2 separate regions of the Homo sapiens genome follow, and region 2 is linked to region 1. Evidence: promoter capture Hi-C in human tissues and cell types (Jung and others, 2019). All regions are on one chromosome and are shown on one strand. The core of a region is centred on a gene start or on the middle of the fragment in contact, and the rest is flanking DNA. Distances in the headings are between cores, read along the strand shown. Region 1 holds the start of ARHGAP10 (Rho GTPase activating protein 10). Region 2 overlaps LOC107986195 (a long non-coding RNA gene).

What was found. The method cuts DNA at HindIII sites, captures the fragments that hold promoters and counts their contacts. A contact is called where the count stands out against the background at its distance.
Region 2: a fragment that was not itself captured here is called in contact with the fragment with the promoter of ARHGAP10 in region 1 in 1 of the 25 tissues and cell types used here (hippocampus).

Annotation. Positions count from the first base shown.
Region 1 is chr4:147,729,738-147,734,969 of GRCh38, reverse strand. ARHGAP10 (Rho GTPase activating protein 10) reads right to left here and starts at 2,882. Exons shown (of 23, transcript NM_024605.4): 1 at 2,515-2,882. The coding sequence starts at 2,668. RefSeq lists enhancers at 838-967, 2,096-2,165, 1,486-2,378, 2,379-3,271 and silencers at 2,276-2,355, 2,666-3,185. The HindIII fragment of the contact is 6,670 bases long and covers 1-5,232 here.
Region 2 is chr4:148,907,870-148,913,101 of GRCh38, reverse strand. The region is part of intron 3 of LOC107986195 (a long non-coding RNA gene); the gene reads right to left. Among named protein-coding and RNA genes, the nearest start is that of LINC02430, 240 kb to the left of the region's middle. The HindIII fragment of the contact is 5,731 bases long and covers 1-5,232 here.

The DNA of each region.
Region 1 (5,232 bases), core at 1,633-4,132:
AAATAGAAATCACTTAAATACACACTTCTCGAAATGCTCAAAAGGTCATTTTTGTAAAATAAAATATAAAATATCTGGAAATATAAATAATCTGACCTAGTGGGTTTTATTCTTTCTGTAGATCCTCCACCCAATGTCATCCCTTGACTCTCTGATGTTATACAAAAGCTCAACTGGTTAGATGAACCATTTACCTAGACTGCAGTTTCAAATAACCTCATCAAGCCATTTTCAAATGCTGCAGAACCTTATTAGTTCCCCTAAGAGGTAGACAGGGGAAGTTGGACGCAAAAGAATAAGACCTGCTCAATTTTCCTATAGCCACGCCCTAACCAGTGAAGAAGAATTAAATTCAGGTCCCCTGACTTTAGTCCAAGGCTCTTAGTCTTTGATAGGAACTAGAAGTAAACTTTATGGAGCAAGCGGGAAAAGGCATGTGAGCTACAGCTGTGTTCCTGTCACCTTCTGGGAAAGAATTTAAACATAAATTCTTAATGAACATAACGAGAAAAAAAGACACTTCCCAATTACTCTCAAAGCATGATTACAAGTTATGTTTCTTATGCTAAAGGACGAGAATCAAAATGAGTAAGATACTAATTCACAAATTCAAGAAAGTCTACAGTCTGGAGGAAAGCTGACATCTGGCCCCCCAGATGCACTGGCTGCTGCTGGAACCTAACGCATGTGTCCTGATGGCAGGAAAGCTAATATGCTGTCACAGAAATAGCTTTCTACCAGTGGCCAAACTGGCTTTGCCCTCTGCCTCTCTCCACACCTCTCTAGCTCCAGAGGGAACTACTACAACCAATGAGAGAGAAGGTACATTCTCCCGGCCACTGACTCTGGTTAACATCAAGTTACAGAAAGAGTCCTCAGTCCTCATTCTCTCGTGTTCACTCTGCACCCCCGCTCCCAACTCCTCCTTTCTATGCTCACTCCTCCATATGTATAGGCGCCCCCCTACTTCCCACCCAACACACATACCAGATGCCAAGGGCCTGGAGAGCCCTCAACCAAATAAGCCCACTTGTCACATGTCCCAGAGTCCCATTTCTGATTCAAGCAGCAGAGACTTAAAAACAAAACAAAAAAACCCTAAGTGAGTCCCAGTCCTGATTTTGCAACACCAAAGAGGTCAGAGAACCAAAAGGAACCTTGGAGATCATCCAGAGAAGTTGAGTGACTTGCCTCCAAAATTACAGGGATGGCTCACTAAATTCTTCCCACAGAAATGTACTTCAACTTATTCATTAAATGCATATTTACTGTACCAGGCACCATGCTGGGTGCCCGAGACAGTATAATCAATATGTTTTAATCGCCCTTACTGAAAAATGGGGCGGGGCGCGGTCGGGAGAACAGTGAGATGGGGGATTTTCCCCAGAGGTGGTATCTACAAACAAATGTACAAGGGACGAATACCTAAGGCTGAGAATTACTGAACTGAGAATCTAGGTGAGTGATGAAGGCCCTAAGAACCCAGCCCCTCAAGGCTGGATACTGCCCAAGTCCCTGTCTGCTGTATGGACAGGTCTTTTAAAGGGGGAAAGGGGACATTCACCGCCATCCTCCGAAGGGGTTATGGATCCAAGGGATGGTCAGGCTGCCCAGCTCCTCACTGGGGCTAATTCCGCCCCATTTTCCAGTAGCATCACTAACTCAGTATTTCTGCATGAATTTTGGCCCCTTCTCTCCTAGAAAGACTCTCCTCAACTACACTAAAATACAGTTATCTCTCCTGTATCTCGTGTCTTCTTCCGAGTTTAAGAGACAGAAGTTCAGGGGAGGAAGGCACCAAGCCTAACCGGGGTGGAATTCCCTATTTGCAAGCAGTGCCCGCCTAGGCTAGAGGGCAGGCTGTCCGCTCACCCTTCCAAACCCCAATCTTTGAACCCTCCTCAGCACGGCAGGGGAGGAATGTGCGGAAGCAGCATAAAGCCAGGTGGACTTTCTGGTTTGGCACGTGAAGGACCTGGAACAGGACTGTCGGGGAAGATCAGACAATGAGAGGGAAAAGGTGAAGCTTAAGGGGACTCTGGAAAACTCAACACTCCCGCAGGGTTTCAAAGAATCCCCAAGAAATTTCTTTTGAGAAGTCACAAAACAAAACTAGGCAAACAGATGCCTCGGTTTTGTAAGAGATTGTGAGTAGCTTTAGGCAGCAATGAAACCTGACTCCGGGCCAGGAGTGCCTAGGGTCGGTCCAGCGGAGCGCGCATTCAGCGAGGGGTGTTCGGCCGGGGCCAGGCGGGGCCCAGGCGGGGCCCGCTGGCAGCTGGTTCCCGCCGCCGCAGAGCCGCAGGGGCGGGAATGGGGACTCGCCGCGCTGCCTCGAGGAGGAATGATTCCAGGGACCCCCCGGGGTTCCGAGAGAGCTGGGCTGGTCCGGAATGAATTCCCCGTTCCTCTGGCTGCTGGCCCCGGACACAAGACCCTCCGTCTCCTGCCGAGAGAGGCTCCCCCAGCCGCCTCGCCACGCCGCAGCCCGTCCGCGCCCGCGTCCCCGCTTACTTTTCGTCGCAGCGATGAGGTTCTTCCCGTCCTTAATGAGCTCTTTGATGAACTTGTTGGTCCTCTCGAGTTCCGCTTCGTGAGCGCGGATCCTCTCCCGGAACCACGGGCTGTCGAGGTAGCAGTCGCTGAACTCCAGGGGCTGCAGCCCCATGACGGCAGCGGTCGCTGCGCGGTGCGCACGGCCGCGCGCTCCTGCCCGAGCCGAGCTCCGAGGCCGCTGCCAGGTGCGGCGCCGCGCGTTCAGGGAGCACAGAGGAGCTAGCAGGCCCGGGCGCGCGGCGAGCGCGGCACGGACATGTCCCGTAGAGCCGAGTCCTGCGGCGCGGAGGAGCTGCCACCGAGACCAGCGCTAGCTGCGGCGCCCCAATCCCGGCAGCCCCCGCCGAGCTCTGAGCGCCCGCGGCCCCGCCCCGCCCGGCCCCCGCGCGGCAGACACTCCCCGAGGCGCCACCCGGCCGGGCCCGCGCTCCCGCTCGTCCCCTTCTCTTTCCTCCGCCTTCCTTCTTCCTCCCTTCCCTTCCCTGGACGCCTCTTCCTTCTCTTCCCCACGCGCAGCTGCCCCTCCTCTTCCTTCCGAGGCGTCCTGGGGCTAGAATTTCGCCCCGCGGCTCCCCTCCACCCTGGGCGCTCTCCCCTCCCCTTTGCTTGGGCTCCCGGGGCCGGGGTGACTCACAGTCGGCTCCCCGCTGCACGGAACCCGACCGGGACCGAGAAGGAGCGTCTTAATTGCAGTCGTTAGTCCCCGCAGGCGGGCGACATAACTCTGAAGTGGCTGCCTTGCAGGAGATGATTAACTCATTTATCTCATTTATCCTGGGACGCCCCCAACCCCGAGCTGGGAACGAACTCGCACAGGGGGCTCTTTTCCTTATCCCGGTTCCTTTCCCAGTTTAAAGTGAGATGCGTGGTAAATCTCCGCTTGAGATCGAAGCCTTACAATGGCAAGAGCGTTTTCTTGGTGGCCCAGCAGCTCCTATTACACTTCTCTGCGTATCCGCACTAAATAACTTAGTTGAAGAGAGAGGGCTGGCTAAACCACAGAAAAGTTGTTTCTGTTGTGTTCAGCACATTAAATTTGCTGGGGTAGGTGAAGACGATCTTTATTATTCTAAAAATAACTACCGGAAAACATGCCAGGTAACGTGTGGTTTTCACCGCGTGGGGGTGACGATCAATGAGAATTTATGTCAGTGCCCTCAAAAAGCCTATTTTGTGTGTTATGAAACAACTCCAGTGTGTCCCAAAAAAAGTTAGGCATTTTAAAGTATTAAAATGTATACCTTAGGCCGGACGTGGTGGCTCACGCCTGTAATCCCAACACTTTGGGAGACGGAGGCGGGTAGATCACCTGAGGTCAGGAGTTGGAGACCAGCTGGCTAACATGGTGAAACCCCGTCTCTACTTAAAATACAAAAAGTACCCGGGTGCGGTGGCACGTGCCTGTAGTCCCAGCTGAGGCAGGAGAATCGCTTGAACCCAGGAGGCGGAGGTTGCAGTGAGTCGTGATGGTGCCACTGCACTCCAGCCTGGGCGACAGAGCGAGACAATGTCTCAAAAAAAAAAAAAAGTATTTCTTAAAAAAAAACACTAATAGTTCATTAGAGTAACGTTTCATAATCGCAATTTATTAAGCAATTATTATGTGCCGGGCACCCACTAGGAACTCCATACATCTACAAACTCGCGATATAGACTTACATGATATGATGGTAATATTAACGAGAAACTTCAAAGTAATTCCTCAAGACGTTCAGACTCTCAGCTGGGTAATTAAGAATCTGTTTGGACAGCATGTTGTAGGAGGGTAACCCTCCCGAACAAGTTAAATAAGCCTCCTACTCAATAAGCCCTTTTGTTACAAAACAGCACCAGGAGTGCCTAACCCACAGATAAACATTATTACTCTAATGTCCATCCTCCAGAGAGTTCAAAGTGTTTTACAAATAACTTTTAGGCGGTGAAAGCTTCAGTTCCTACTAAAACCAGCAGGAGACTGGAGTCTACAGAAAAGAGAATAAAAGAGGCAAATAAAGGGGAAGAAAGACAAGAAGAGAGGGGGTGTAAACAAAAATGAGGGCCTAGCGAAACAGCCAAGCACTGACCACACTCAATCCTCAGAGCAGAAACCCAAACCTTTTCTCATAGAGGGGCTGCTGAGACTTCTTCAATATTGAACATGGAGGTTACCGTGTGACCCAGCAAGTCCACGCTTAGATATATACCCAAAAGAAATGAAAATATATGTCCACGCAAATATTTACACACAAATATTCATAGCAGCATTATTCGTAATAGCCAAAAAGTAGAATCAACCAAAATGTCCTTTGTCAGCTGTGTAATGGATGCACAAAATGTTTGTCCATAAAATGAAATATTAATCTACAATAAAAAGGAATGAAGTACTGACACGTGCTACGGCACAATAACGGTGAAAACGTTATACTAAGTAAAAGAACCTAGCTGCAAAAGGCCAATACTATCTACTTATATTAAATGTCCAAAACAGGTAAATCTATAGAGGCAGAAAGATTAGTGGTTGCTAGAGACTGGGGGATAGAGTGGAGGGTATATGTAGTCAGGAGTTTATTTTCAGGGTGATGAAAATTATTAATATTTTTATTTTTCATAGAGATAGGGTCTCACTATGTTGCCCAGGCTTTTCTCAAACTCCTTAGTTCAAATGATGCTCCCACCTTGGTCTCCCAAATTGCTGGA
Region 2 (5,232 bases), core at 1,142-3,641, 1.2 Mb before region 1:
TTAGAATTCTAAAAAACTATCATTCAGCATTCAGAATTATTTTCTTCCCCCAGGAGAGATGAGAGAGAGAGAGAGAGAGAACAGACACATATGGCAATGATTCCCAAGAGCAAGACAAGAAAACAGGCAAATTGGGGGCAATGGAAACTGACAAGGAAGAAGTGAAAGGTAGGAAGCCAGTGCTTTATTGATCTTGGGACTCCCTGCAGCACTCTCCAAATCAATAGAACAAATTGAGGCCTCAGCAATTGCATTTCTTGTGTTTATAAATGTGCAGACCCTAGGGCAAAATTTGGGGGGTATTATCGGTTTAGATTCAACAGAAGAGACAAAACAAAATATAACACTCTCAAATGTTGGCAAAAGTACCAACAAGGAGTCTCCTTGAGACTTGAAGATAAACTCATCTAAGACCTCTGCTCCTGGCTGCTATGCCCCTACCCCACCCTCTCCCACCTTGTACCTGGTGGACAAGAATCGCAAGGATTCTGGGAAACTCCTAGAGACTCCTGAGCTCTAACCCTTGAAAATACTTAGACTTACATTGTTTTAAGGTGACAGAGAACAGTACTAATAAGTGCTTATTTGGTTTGGACATCCCTTCTAAAGAATTAAATCCAAATTCTGTACCAATTATATTAAAACATTACCTTACTAATTTCAGAAAATTATAAGCAGATGCTCCATTTTCTGTACCTCAGTGGCTATCCAATTTCACAGCATTTCAAGACTTTTTAAAAGGTGGAGAGCTGCACATCATTTGTTCCTGAGATAACCTTTACAAGTCAGTCTCCCACATAAGCCTCTCCCTCGCTGGTAGGCAGATGCATTATGGAGAATTTGGCAAGGTTCAATCAATAACTGAAGTAATGCAGGAATGACACTAGTGTGAATACTGCTGGCTTAGATATTTCCTGTTTTTCATAAGGAACAAGTACCCACTATTCCTGTCATTTTAAAGGAAAGAAACAAGGACCATTATTTCCTTGGCTTAATATTAATATTAAATGGGTGCCCACAAAATGTTGTCAATGAAAATCTGTGTTTAAAGCGATAATATATTCTGGAATGCTTGGCTCAGAGTTTTCTTAAGAAACAGCTCCTAAAATAATGGAGTTTAGGACAAAATTTCTGAATATCTTGTAATCTTAAGACTAAAGGTCAAGGGGAGCCCAACGAGTGACCTGCCATGTCTTTAATGTGACTGACAAATTAACAAATTTGTGGCGATCACAGTTCACATCTTCATCATCCTCATTGATTGGATAAGGCTCGCAGATCACTGTTGAATGGAAGTCAAAGCATTTATTATTATAAATGCTCAGCTTCTGGGGTGCTGGCCTCAGTCACATGCCAATGTTATTTTAATAATTTTCAAAGTAGCATCGGTGTTTTGTTGTTGTTGCTGTTCCATAGGGAATTTTACTTTCTTTGTGGTCAGAAAACCAACCCACTGGATGGTCAAAAAGATTAAAATTTACCAAAGAAAGACATCATGTAAAGTTAAGTCATTTAAAAATTGACACAGAGCTGTGAGTTTGTTTTTATTTGCTGTTTTTCTTTTAGAAGATAACTTTTCTCAGAGATAAACAGCTAAAAATGTCCAAGTCAGCAATGAGGTTTCCTTGGGTCTGTTTGTATTTCAAACATGGCTAGCATGAAATACATAAATAAACAAATAAACAAAAAGAATCTGCTTATTCTAAATTGATGGGCAAAAGAGATGGTGGAAGCGCAGTAACGGATGATTTATAAGGTGACCCAGGATGTACCTTGGAACCTTGCTACCCAAGCTGTGATCTGCAGACCAGTAGCATGGGTGTCACCAGGGAGCTTGTTAGAAATGTAGAGTTTCAGGCCTCTCCTGAGACCTAGTGAATTCAAATCCACATTTTAACAAGAAGGATCCCTAGGTGTTTTTCTTGTATATTCAATTTATGAGAATTTCATTCTACAGTTAACGTTATCTGCAAGAAAAGCAAATATTTTCATATGGTAAATTAGAGTCATTTACTACCCTAAAATATCTAATGGGATAGCTGATGGGTCAGGAGAGCGGGGAGAGAATGCACATTCCTAGGTTAACTTATGACAATACTAGGCAGTTAGCAGAGCACATTTTGAAAAAGAGTTGAATTCCTCTTGTTCTAACTTTGCATACATCTATGCAGTAGCCATTAGTAGCTGATAGTTTTAGGCATACAGTTGATGGGCATTTACTTCTTTATTGTGTGTAAACATACAATGACTGAAAACAGAGAATCTGAGATTCTAAATTAGGATAAAATCCAAGTCAGCTCAAGGCTCTGGAGATGATCAGTAAATGATCACTGCAGAGGTAAAAATACCTGCAGAGGTAGAAAAATAAAAGGTAACTAAGATAAGGAAACAGGCTATACTGGTACAGTTCCTTAGCCAAAGTTAACTCAGTTTCACCAATTTTTTTGTCAAGTTAGGACTATAAGTAAACATCAAAACCACACAATACTTTAAGCAAAATGAATGAATAGTTATTGAGCATACACTTTTTGCTGGGTCTGATACCAGGTTCCAGGGTCTGTTTTTTTCTTTTAAATCTCACAGCAACTCAAATGAAAAATGAATTCTCATTCCCATTTCACTAATGAGAAAATGGTGGTTTAACAAGGATAAAATAATGGCCCAAGATTACAAAGCTAGTAAGTAGAAGAACTGGGGTTTAAAATTAGTTTAACCTGACTCTGCAGTCTCTCCCAATTATGGCATGGTGCTAAGTGTAGTTATTGTAAAAGTAAGTTATATGTTTAGTAAAATATACACAATTATTACAATGCTCTGATTTATTCTAAACCAAATGGTTCTTTTGTCTTTATATAGTCTTGAGTTAAAAGAAACTCTTCATATATTGTTAAATACAGATAGCTGAACTGGGTGGGCCACAAGTGATCATTCCAGTGAACAGTCGGGTACATGCAGTCAGCAGAACAGATAGATGGCAACCATTTTAACATTCTGCCTGAATCAGGCTGGTTTGCAATTGCATGTGCCACCCTCCAATTACAAAAGTATGTTCTCCAACACAATTTCAAAGGATCGTTAAAGTTCACCACATCAATATTACCCCCCTTTTAATTATGAATTTTCAGAGGAATTACCTTGAGGAAATGGGAGGTGGAACAATAGAGACCTTGTCATGTGTAGCCCACAAGAAATATGTATTGGCCCAAGAAATAGTGAATAATTTAAAGGTGATGAAAACATTTGTGACACGTGTGTTAGTGTGATGCACTAACTGGAGGCCTGAATTAACACCATATTTTTGGCTTCATGCCATAAATGACCAGTGGATGTAGCTCTGGGCTTTCTACTTTCACTTTAGTCAGGACCACTTAGCTTTTATCTGGTTCATTTATTAGGATTCCATGAAAAATTTGTTGCTGTTGTTGTTCACAGGGCTCTACTGCTTTTTTCAAAATTGAAAATGCTTGTGCTATCAATTAAAACTTCTCGTGTCATGGATGAAGACACTAAAAAAGATTCAGAACCCATGATTCTACTTCATGTGTGTCTGCTATATGCTAGGCACTGTGCCAGAGATTTTCACAGGATGTCTCATTTCTTTGTCTATACACTAAGAAACGAAATCTAAAAGATGAATTCACTTGCCTAGGCTATTCAAGTAGTGAAGACAAACTGAAGGCTAGAGGCCAGGTTTATTAACCACCAAATTCTATGCTTTTCCCAAAATATCTTATTGCTGGCGTAAAGATAAGACACCTTGGTTTTCCCATCTTAGTCCCAGGTTGGATAATTGGAATCTGTTTTCATATTCTGTTCTCTCTACATAAAGATTATAATATTGATAATCCATAGGGTTTATATGCTAGACATTTTTTCCAATAATTAAATACAGATGACACGGAGTCACATTGGTCTGTTTTTCCCTCTTCTGGCCAAGAAGACCAATTGGCAGAATGTTTAGTTGATATTCAAGCTGCCATTTTGACTCTGGGACTTTTTTTTTTCCCAATCCAAATCCGTACAGATATACTATGGGGTAGGAAATTCCTGTTATTTCACTAGACCAATTCCATAATAAAATGGGTAATAAAAAGCATCTTATCTTCTCTATATGGTTAAAACAGCAAATGTTAACAAAGCTACTTTGCTCATTTACCTCATATACGAGAAATAAAACATCATGTGAATGAAATTAAATATAGTCAAACTTGATCTATAAGCCTAATGTTACAATGGATTCATTTTCTTCACACTGTATTTTCTCATGTTTTTTTTCCCACTGAAATAGAAAGAAGATCAAGGTAAGAAGACAGAGGAGAGCGAGAGTGTCCTATATGGCCACCACTTGAGGTAGCAATTCTGAGATACAGATTAATGAGGAAGTATGATCCAGTCAATGTCATAAAGTGAACAGTGATCAAATTAATTATAAGCCAGTAAATTTCTGGCACATTTTTTTTCTTTAGTGGTACCATGCAGTTTAAAGGGATAAGATATTAAGAGAGAGGGAAAGTAGAGTTCTGTAATAGATAAAATATTAAAATATGGGCTTTACATTTAGGATTCCTTTTCTTTCAAGTTCCAGAATATTTAATACTTTGGGACCCCTCAAAAAATGGTTGGTTGGCTAATTTCTTTTTTTGGTTTTTTTTTTTTTTTTTGAGACAAGTCTCTCGCTCTGTCACCCAGGCTGGAGTGCAGTGGTGCGATCTCGGCTCACTGAAAGCTCCGCCTCCCGGGTTCATGCCATTCTCCTGCCTCAGCCTCCCAAGTAGCTGGGACTACAGGCGCCTGCCACGATGCCCGGCTAATTTTTTGTATCTTTTTAGTAGAGACGGGGTTTCACCATGTTAGCCAGGATGGTCTCGATCTCCTGACCTCGTGATCCACCCGCCTCGGCCTCCCAAAGTGCTGGGATTACAGGCGTTAGCCATGGTGCCCGACCTGGTTGGCTAATTTCTAATCGCTCCATCTACCTGGCATTTACCTTATTTACAAAGTTAGACATATATTTGTAAGCAAATAGGCCTTATATTCTACCCAGGGGAGAAAAGAGGAAAACAGATACAGGGGAAGGACAATTACATCAATAGATGATATTTAGATAAGTAAGCAATGACCAGCTCTTCCTTTCCTGAAAAAATAACCCATGCTCAGCAACTAAATCTTTAATTTGACCCTTTCTCTATGATGACAATGACAAAGTATGTTCCACTTCATAGAAGCTTCCAG